Regions from separate parts of the Homo sapiens genome. Here region 1 is linked to region 2. Evidence: promoter capture Hi-C in human tissues and cell types (Jung and others, 2019). All regions are on one chromosome and are shown on one strand. Each heading gives the region's core, a stretch centred on a gene start or on the middle of the fragment in contact. The rest is flanking DNA. Distances are from core to core; before and after follow the strand shown. Region 1 has its middle 78 kb from the start of LINC01395. Region 2 holds the start of KCNJ5 (potassium inwardly rectifying channel subfamily J member 5).

Region 1 (4,940 bases), core at 638-3,137, 800 kb before region 2:
AGGAGAAGCTGATGCTTGGCTTCTGTTCCCCTTTACCTTATTTCTCCTTCACCCTCTTTTCTCCCCACCTCTCCTTTGCGCCCCAAGTTCTTTCTCCTAAATATCTCTGAAATCCGTCCTCCCACTCCAGCCCCCCGCCACATCCTGCTCAGGGCCTGCCTTGTCTCTTGCTTGGACCAAGGCAACAGCATCCCACAGAGCCTCCTGACTGAGGCTCTTCCCCTCCTCTCCTCTCTCTATAATGCCGTCAGAGAATCCTGTTGGAAAAAAACCCCTGGGGAGTCAAGCATTCTGCTTACAATCCTTTCGCCACCCCACAACTTATCCCTTGCTTGATATTCCAACCCCCTTGGGAACCTTTCTTCCATCCCTTCTGGCACCCCAGGCCAGCTCCTGCGCTGGCTCCAACGGTGTACGTGCCACCCTTAGGTCCCCACAGTAAGCTCTGCACATTTCCACTCTGGCTTCTTGTACCTCTTCACATGAGGTGCCCTGCCTGGGAGCCCTGTTCATCCCTGCCTGGAATTTTTACTTTCCTCTAAGACTGTTCCAAGTCACCTCCTCCAAGGAGCCTTCCCTGACCAGCTAAAACATAGTCATGGATATTTTGTCATGTGCCCTAATAAAGCTTCCTTAAACATGACTTTCACTCTACACATGAATTTCACTGTACTGTGATTATTACTTTGTGTCCCCCAATTTGACTTTGAACCCTGCATGGGCAGAGATAGAATTTTATTTATCTCTGTGTCCTCAGCCCCTAAATAGGGCCCAACATTCATTGATCCACTTTCTCCTTCATTCTTGTTGACTTGATTCTCTGCCTGGACTGTGTTAATCGCCAGGGGATACAAACAATGACAGGGTGCACCCACAGCCTCATGGACATGACAGAGGACCAAATGTGGGATTGGAGAGTGGTGTGACGAGAGCCAGGATCGCAGGGAGCCTGGGGAGCCCCGGGCCATTCTGGTGGGGCAGGAGGCTGAGCTCCTCCTGGGGCACCAGGCCCTCCATGCCACACACCTGCAGAGCTCTGGGCAGGCACTTGGCTGAAAGCATTATCCTTCCTTTCAGAGGGAAGTTTCAGCAGGGCAAGGCCTGTATTGCTGATCTCTGCTGTTTACAGAGATCTCAGTCTCTCCTGGGGCTGAGGGGCATTGGTGCAGTGGAGCTGCGACCTGAGCCGGGTCCTGGCTCTTAGGTAGAGTCCTGAGACTTTCATACGTCCTTTCCACACAGGGGGTCTCACGCACAGACCTTATCCTGGAGGGTCACGGCTTTTTTCACAGAGATGGACGTTGAGAGATAAGCGCCCCAGGAACTACACAATTACAGTTGGGAGAAATATGGTGAAGAAAAACACCGGGGCCAGGACATCTTGTGTGACAAGGAGGCCTCCCAGGAGAGTGAATCGATGTGACAATGTGTCCTTCAAGCCTGGGTCCAACTCCCATGTGGGGAGTGGCTGCCTTGGTTCCCAAGCCGATCATCCTGCAGGCAACCCCTCTGACCACAAGGGGGCCTGCTGGAGCCTGGCCTGGCCCAGCCCTTCCCGCCCAGAAACACCTCCCGGTCTGGTCCCTGCTGTTGGTGACTCAAGGAGCCAACACCTGTCTCCAGAGGTCAAGGCCACCTTGAGGGTATAGGGTGCCCGGGCACTCCACACACGGGGCGTGGAGGGAGTCTCCCGGCCGGGCCAGCCCCGGCTTCCTCTCAGTGGAACCTCTGCTGCGTGGGAGCCCTCGCGGGCTGGCTGGACCGACCCAGCCTCTGCCCCTGGCTTCCGCTTCTACCCCACTTCGCTTCTTTCCCCCAGGGTTGCCAGAGAGCTGCTGCCAGTTTTCCCAGCACATTGCTCACAGGAAATTAGGGTCTAAAGGTGCAAGGTGAGAGAGAAAAGCCATACATGGAATAACTGAAACTACTGGGGGCTGCATTTCCAGCTCCACTCGCCCTGTGCGAAAGCACTGAGACCCCACCTTCCTCGCAGGCTCCTGCGACCGCCCTCTCCAGTGCTGAGGGTGCAGTTCCACCACGGGCCATGAGGGGCTGCTTGCCCGGAGCTCCTGGAGGGGGCCCGCGGGCCTGGCTCAGCTGGAAGAGGACAGAACACAGCAGGTTCCATCCGAAGCTTTACCTGTTGGCAGAGTGGGTGGTGTGTGCTTTGAGAAACATGGAGCAGGCTCAACAGAACCAAAGTCTCTTCCTCTCCAAGATTCAATCATACCTAAAGCTCTGCTGCTGGAAACTCATCAGCCAGGCTGTGTCCTCTCTGCAAGGCACTCTTTACAAACCGCTATAGAGGCTGCCTTTCTTTGCTGCTTTGCAGCGTAGGAAGTGCTTCTGGTACACACCTGATGGTCTCCCCGTGACACTTCTGGAGGGTAGGCATTCATGAGATGATTTTCTTTTGGCTGATGAGGGACTCGAGGACTGGCACCCAATTCCAGGTTGCCCACTTCTCTGTTTGATGTCCACTCCGTTACGTGGTGGCCAGTACCACTCAGGCGCGTAGATGTGAATGAATCTGCCTGATGACTGGACTCCATGGCAGCAAAGCAGGGCAGCCCGGCAGTGTTAGGGAAGTGGTGAGTAATCCCTCAGGGGAAGGGAGAGCCAAGGCTCTGAAGATGGGATGCCCACAGAGGAAGGAACCCCAGGCACGAGGGCAGACTTCCCTGCGTGCCAGGCAGAGCCTGCATTCTTGGGGGTGTGTGTGTGTGAGTTTTCACTCCTGTTAGTTCTTGGAGTTGACAACCAGCAATCACGTTTTGAATGGCCTCCTGGCCACGGACAGTGAACTGTGGGGTGTGTGTTCAGCGCTCTGTGCTGTTGCTGTTGTGGGAACAACACCCAGAGCTCCATCGGGCCAGGATGTCCAGCTCTGTCTCTCTCAGCTACAGAGACCAGGAGCTGTTTTCTGCTCACTTGGCACCTCTCTGAACTGTGACGCCACCTCCTGGCCGGGACTGGCTCCCCCCTGGGCTGTAGGGTGTTTCTATGACCTCTTATGCAGGATTGGGAGTAGATGCTGCTCTCAGTTCCTGCCGTGGAGGTCAGCGTGACCAAGCTCCGGGCCAGGCACTGCAGCCTTGCTGTGGCAGCTCAGCATAGACGCACCTCCGCGTGGGCAGCTGTGCTGGGTGCTGTTAAATCTCCTGCATGATCTCTGCCCTGCCCTCCAGGAGTTTCCAATGTCAAGCGTCTTAGTTAGATTATTGTTCCTCCCTGGGCCTCTCTCCCTCTGACTACAGTTGCTATTTATTATCACAATAAGGTCGTGTGATTCTCTTTATTTGGGGTGGGGATAAGAATACTGAACCAGAGCGGGGTCATATACTTAAATGGAGCCCCATACCTGCCACTAATTGGCTATGTGTTCTTGGGCGAGTTATGTGGCCTCCCTGAGTCTCAGCTTTCTCATCTGTGAAATGGGGAAGATAACACTACTCCTAAAGATTGTTCTGAGGCTGTAGTGAGAAAATGCATGCGAAAGCATTTTGAGAGCCACAGAAAGCAGTGGGAGCGAGGGGAGATGCTACTATTCTTAGTGAGGAGGCAAGCAGAATGGCCCAGGGGACTGATCGGCTGTCCCCCCCTTTTCTCCACTGTCCCTTTCCAGCACCTCCTCCCAGGGCCCTTGACACATGCCCATTCTGTGTCCCAAGTGGGCCTGCTCTCCATGCTGTGAAGTTTTTTTTTTTTTTTTTTTTTTTTTTGGAGACGGAGTCTTGCTCTGTTGCCCAGGCTGGAGTGCAGTGGCGCAACCTCGGCTCACTGCAAGCTCCGCCTCCCGGGTTCACGCCATTCTCCTGCCTCAGCCTCTCGAGAAGCTGGGACTACAGGCGCCCCCCACCACACCCGGCTAATTTTTTTATATTTTTAGTGGAGACGGGATTTCACCGTGTTAGCCAGGATGGTCTCGATCTCCTGACCTCGTGATCCACCTGCCTTGGCCTCCGAAAGTGCTGGGATTACAGGCGTGAGCCACCGCGCCTGGCCTTACACTGTGAACTTTCTTTCTCTTCCCTTCCCCTTCCCCTTCCTCTTCCCCTTCCCCTTCCCCTTTCCTTCCCCTTCCCTTCCCTTTCCCCTCCCCCTTCCCTTCCCTCTTCCCCTTCCCTTCCCTCTTTCTTTCTCTTTCTTTCTTTCTCTCTTTCTTTCAGTGGAGTCTCGCTCTGTTGCCAGGCTGTGTAGTGCAGTGGCGTGATCTCGTCTCACTGCAACCTCCGCCTCCTGGGTTCAAGAGATTCTCCTGCCTCAGCCTCCTGAGTAGCTGGGGCTACAGGCATGCGCCCCCACGCCCAGCTAATTTTTGTTTTGTACTTTTAGTAGAGACGGGGTTTCACCATGTTGGCCAGGATGGTCTCGATCACCTGACCTTGTGATCTACCTGCCTCGGCCTCCCAAAGTGCTGGGATTACAGGCGTGAGCCACTGCACCTGGCCGTGACCTTTCTTTTATCCCTCTTCTCCCTTAAAACATACCCATTCTCTGCTTCAGTCCTTGTGCCTTGGATCATTCATTCTTGTAATAAGTGCTTATTGGGAGCCTGGTGTGTTAGAAAGAGCATGGAGTTGAATCTTTGGCCTTATCCCCTCTAGCCGTGTGACTCCAGGCAAGTCCCTTGCATTTTCTGCGCGTCAGTTTCCTAAAATTCAAAACGGGTACAACATCTTCACTGCAGGACTGCTGGGAGCATGGTGAGGGGTGATGTACGTAAAAACCAAGGCGCAGTGCTCAATAATTGTAGCTCTCTCCCCGAGGCTGCTTGCTGCCGATCAGAGAAACTTACCAGACTTGCTATATTGTCCGTGCAAAGACCAAAACAACAACAGCAACAACAACAATTTTAATTGGATCCTGGGATACATCACAAATCCTGGCCTGACAATAGTTGCTTGAATATGCAACTGAGCCACCAGTGCCATCTCCAG
Region 2 (5,308 bases), core at 614-3,113:
GGTGGGGTCCATAGATAGTTTAAAATACCAGCCAAGCTGACCAAACTCTTTATGCCAGAGTCCAACCATGGGCCTCTAACTCCCACATCATTTGCTCTGCCCTGTTCGTTCCTCAGATTCCAGGAAGCCTGAGCGCCTCATTCAGCCAGATGATGCAATTTACACCTGGCTTTGAGGAAAAGCAGGGATGTGGAAAGACAAGAGCAGCTTTCAGAATTAGCTTTTGTTAGTGGAAAGACCCTGGATTTAAAGCCAGAGGACAAGAGTTTTGGAGATAGCAGTGCTGCTGCCACTTAGTGCCTGGAATTCTGTTACCCTTACTCTCATCTATAAAACAGAAGAAATAAGCTCTGCCCCACAGGACTGGTGTCAAGATGAACTCATGTAAACGTATATAGCTCGGCACCTTGGTTTCATAAATATTAGCCTTTTCCTCACATGGAAAAGTGCTTTGAGAACCAGAAAGCCCGATAAACCATATGGCTTTTGATGAAAACGAGGCACATTTTGGAGTCAGATATAGGAGAGAATCTCCCTTTATGAGCTGTGCACCTGAGGCAAATTGCACAGCCTCTCTGGGCTTCAATTTTTCACCTGTAGAATGAGGATGATAATCTCAGCTTATTAAAAGGATTGAAACAGAGTAAAATACTTGGCGTGTTCCTGTTGATCTTCTTCTGGTGTTTGAAAAGGCTCCTGGAACAGGTTTTGGGCTGGTGTTGCTCACCCTGATGTTCAGGGTAGGCCCTAGAACTTTGGGGGCCGGACCTGAGGCCCTCCACAGCCCCTGGGGTTGGAGAGCCCTGTTTGAGGGAAGGCACAGATAAAACCAGGGGGCCAACAGCTCTGCAGGGAGAAGCACTGACTTGAAGAGAAGGGGAGCAATGACAAGGCCGGCCTTCTCTGTTCCCTATCCTCTGTCCTCACAGGCTTGACCCCTGGCCTTTCTGAACCATTTGAAAGCTCTTTAAAAGGAGATAGGGAGGTACGCAGGAAGTGACTTGGGCAGCGAGGGGGGCAGAAATCACAAGGCCGTGTTTCCAGTTTGGCCACACTTAAAAGAGAAAGCAAGATTAGGCTGGGGATCTAAGGCTGAGGGGGGCACCGCCCCCCATCCTGGCCCTCCCTGCTCCCATTTGAAGGAAGAGTCCTACCAGGTGAAAAATGTCCTCCACACCCCACCCACTCCTGGCCACTGTTGCCTCTCAAACCACTGCTGGGAGATCTGGGGCACCCCCAGGTAGCCCTGGTCTAGTGCCAGAAGTGAAGGTGTTTATGGCTGGGCTCCCAACGCACAGGGCAGCCTGCAGCCACGGAGATCTCCAATTTCCTAAACTTGGACCTGCCCTAAGCTTTTCCTTATCCCCCCTGGCTCCCAGTCTAGCAGGTTCCCTGTGAAAGCCTGCTGCCCAGGTGATGGACACCTGAGGGTGTCATCCTGCCCTCCAGAACCCGCGAGCTGGGGGAGAAATGGAGGAGGAAAAGAAGACAACTTACTTGTTGAGATCGGAGCTTCCGAGTCCCACTGATGCTAACTTCTGGGGTGTCCCTTAGCGGCGGTGCAGGGGGGCTCAGGGCTTTTGAGGGGACTCCCCAGCCCCTGCCATGACCCCACGGAGGAGCTGTAGCTGGAACCTCTCCCTGTTGTGGGGTCCTGTGGGCAGAGGTACCTAAGCCATCCTGTCCCTTCACTCGCGGCCCCTTGGGTCACTCCCTTTCTCTAGCGAGAGCAGCTGGAACAATCTCTCTCTCTCTCTCTCTCTCTCTCTCTCTCTCTGTGTGTGTGTGTGTGTGTGTGTGTGTGTGTGTGTGTGTGTGTGTCCCCTCCTCCCTCTCCTCTCTCCCTCCGTCCCTGGTACAAATGAATCTCTGGGTAGTAACGCGACTGGAAGGGCCACCGGCGTTGGCGGCGGGGGGCGGGCTGGGGTGGGGCGGGGGCTCCATGTGATCCGGGACGCCGTCAGCTCGGCAGGACTGGGAGGGAAGAGGAAGGCGGAGAGAGAGCCCGGCAGGCATCCAGCCCTCCGCTCGCGTCCCCGCGGCCCCCTGCGCCCTCCCCCGGCTCCCCCTGCCCCCGGCTGCACCCCTGCTGCGGGGTGCCAGGGACGGAGACCCGCGCGCGCGCGTGTGAGCGTCCCATGCCTGTGTGTGAGCGCCGCGTGTCACGCGTGTCCGTGTGTGAGCGCCGCGTATTTAGTGGGTGCGGTGGAGCAGACAGAAAGAAGGGAGAAACTATTAGGGCAGAAATCTTGGCTCGGAGCCTCGGCGGGGCTGCTCAGTCGCTCCGCGGTGCGCTAAGCGGACGGTTGGCAGCATTTCGCCGTTTCCCGAGAGGGATGGAGCAGATGGGGGGATTCCTTTGGGAAGGCGGGGGAGCCACAGTCTGGGCGCTGCATCCCCCGCCCGACGGCTCTGATTCCCGCCGTGGAGTGAGGGTCCGGGGGCCTGATCCGCCAGCTGCAGGGGGAGTAGGTCCAGGGACAGGACCCAGGCTAGCTGTCCCCGGGCTCGCTGCTCACCCCGGACGATCTCTCCCCGGCGTGCGGCGGCGGCTGGGCGGCGATGGCTGGAAACGCGCCCTGCACGGACAGGAGGCGGGAGCAGCCCGGAGGGAACGGAGCTCAACCTTGCCCAGGCGTGGGCAGAGCCGGCGTCCTCCGCGCCACCTCCCGGCTCTCCCTTTTGGATTCCTACCTGCCTTGAGGACAGATGATGACCAGAGTGTGTTCTTTAATTCGTGGAAGCCGTAGGAAAGGCAGCTGCCAGGGCAGGCTGAAAGGGAGGGCTGCTGTCTGGGGAGGGCCGGCAGGTGCCTCTGAGGACCGGTCTGTTCGGGGTGGCCCTTCTCACCCGGTGGTGTTCCTTCTGGCCCCTCTCCGTTACCCAGCCTTTTGGGGTCAACACCCCCCCTGCCAGCCCCCTCTCTCAGGGCAGACACAGCTGGTCAAACGTGGGGTGCCCTAGCACCTAGCACAAGTGCTAGGTGAATGATGTCTACGACCAGAAAACTGGTTTATTACGTTGCAATGAGAAAAATGCTTGTCACTAATACTGGAGGGCACCAAGTCCATCCTCTCCTGTAAGGACAGTGACAGGGAAACTTAGTCTCTAACAGTGGCCTGGGGGTCCTCTTGCCTCGGAGACCAGCGTACACACAGCCCGTTGCCCAGGCACCCTCCCCTGGGACAGAGCACAGAGCGGTCCGGCCAGAGTGGGCCTCCTGATTGCCCCTCTTCTCTCTGTAGAGGGGGTGATTGTTAAATGTGGCTGCAACAGGCCCTAACAGGAAAGCTCTGTGTCCCCTTAGGGGACTCAGCTTGCCTAGGTGCTCACGCACTGCACCATATGTTGTTTGACCTCAGGGCTTAACACTATTGTGGAGAAAGTTCTTAATTCCCTAATTGCCTAGTTCTTGGGAGAGGCTTTGGCTGTGCAGTTCTCAGGTCCAGATAACACACACTATAATCATCTGCTGAGCCCTGAGGAGGGGCTCTGTCCTGGGGCAGCAGTTGCTTTTGGATTAGGTATAAAGACCATGATATTCCTTTTGCCATTACGGGGTGGGGGTCAGGGGACCTGGACTGACTTTAAAGCAAAATATAGGGTGCTCTGGGAAATACTGTTTTGCAAAGATTTTCTCAGTGATGGGACCTTGGATCGGGAGACAGAAAAATTTGTGTCCAGGTCTCACCTGAGAACTGAAAAACGCGAAATTTGGGGATTCTAGTCCTGAGCAATTGTTGCAACTTGGAGGAGCTTTGAGAGGCCCAAGCCTCTCAAAGAGCACAGACAACATCTGAGGATAGCAATGCAATAAAAGAACTACTCAGGGAGCGGTACAAGGTGCTAAGTATGTCTTTCATTGTCTGAAAATTGCTGAGGCGGTGCTTGAAAGCAACAGAAAATGTGTATGTATTATCACTGTTAATTAGAGTACAGCCTCACTTCTTCTGTTCTCTTTATCTGCTTCTCTTACCTTCTTTCATCGAGCGGGAGATGGGTTCACAATTAAAGATGTTCTCTTTAGAATATAAGACTTGCAGAAAATTATTTTTTTCTCCTATTTATAGAAGTTATATTTGCATTAGGAGCCTGGTAATGTCTCATAAATATTTCCTTTTAGATAAAATATTAATTAAAGGAGTTTGTTGAGTTATACTCTGAAATCCTAACTAAATAGCTTCTAAAACAAATATTTTAAGCATTTTTTCTCATGTCAGGAGAATTCTTCATACGTCCATAAACAGCAGATATCTATCGAGTAAGGACATATTATTTTGCAATATTTAACATAATACTGTAGCTGCTACCCAGTTTAAAAAAACAAAACCAGGCATTGCCAACACTGCCAAATCCATGTGAGATTACCTCCTCTTCCCTCAGGAGAGAACCAGCCACCTGAGTTTGGTGTTTCTCTTTCCCATGGCTTTTAAAATGCTAAACAGACACACACACAAACACACACACACACCCCTACACCTACACCTACTCAGTTAGCGAATGTTGACTGTATGTATTTTTATGTCCACACACTCTCTTGGTTGATAAAGGCCTACTATGTTTGAGACACTTTGATAGGTGCTATGAGAGAGACCAAAAGGTATAATGGTGGGCTTTGATCTCAAATGTCTCACATCTAACAGGGAAGGTGGCATGTCTGCGGGTGGGGGGAAGTCAGCAGACAAATTAACAGCATAGGATTTTAATTCCTAGGTGTTAATTGGGAGCTGGTGTGGAATTGACAGGAATGCTAACACAGCTCGGAGAAGAGGAGCTGGGACTGACTTCTGACGGCAAGGCTACGCAGAGAAGGAAGGTCTGAAGGACTTAGGGAAGGAAGACTAAGGTTTGAATGTGATGAGAGGGAGAGGAGTCAAGGAGCCGGGCTGGAAATCAAGGCTTGGGCAGGCAAGGCTCAGGGTGCTCAGGGACCACAAGAAAGGGAAGGGTTGCTGCTGGGGGATCTGGGCGGTAAAGTGGTGATGCCAGTGGCTGTAATTAACGCAGTGCCTACTATGTGCTGAGCTCTGCTCGATGCTTCACGTAAGTAATTGCTTGTAATTTTCTCGACAGCCTCGGGAGGGAGGTAGCTTTAGCACCTTTCTCCGGAGAGAAAACAGGCTCAGACAAGTCAAGTCCCCTCACACTGGCAGGAATTTCAGACCTGCTAGCAGAACCCAGTTTTGTTAGTTTCCAAGATCATATTTCTAATTGTTATGAGATGAACGGTGTCTCTCCCAAATTCAGATGTTGAAGCCCTGATTCCCAGTGCTTCCGAATGTGACTGTATTTGGACATGGGGCCTTTA

The links. The method cuts DNA at HindIII sites, captures the fragments that hold promoters and counts their contacts. A contact is called where the count stands out against the background at its distance.
Region 1: a fragment that was not itself captured here is called in contact with the fragment with the promoter of KCNJ5 in region 2 in 1 of the 25 tissues and cell types used here (small bowel).

The regions. Positions count from the first base shown.
Region 1 is chr11:129,692,822-129,697,761 of GRCh38, reverse strand. No RefSeq gene overlaps it. Among named protein-coding and RNA genes, the nearest start is that of LINC01395, 78 kb to the right of the region's middle. The HindIII fragment of the contact is 4,836 bases long and covers 1-4,305 here.
Region 2 is chr11:128,887,911-128,893,218 of GRCh38, reverse strand. It overlaps KCNJ5 (potassium inwardly rectifying channel subfamily J member 5), which reads right to left and starts at 1,863. Exons shown (of 3, transcript NM_000890.5): 1 at 1,498-1,863. The HindIII fragment of the contact is 9,287 bases long and covers 408-5,308 here.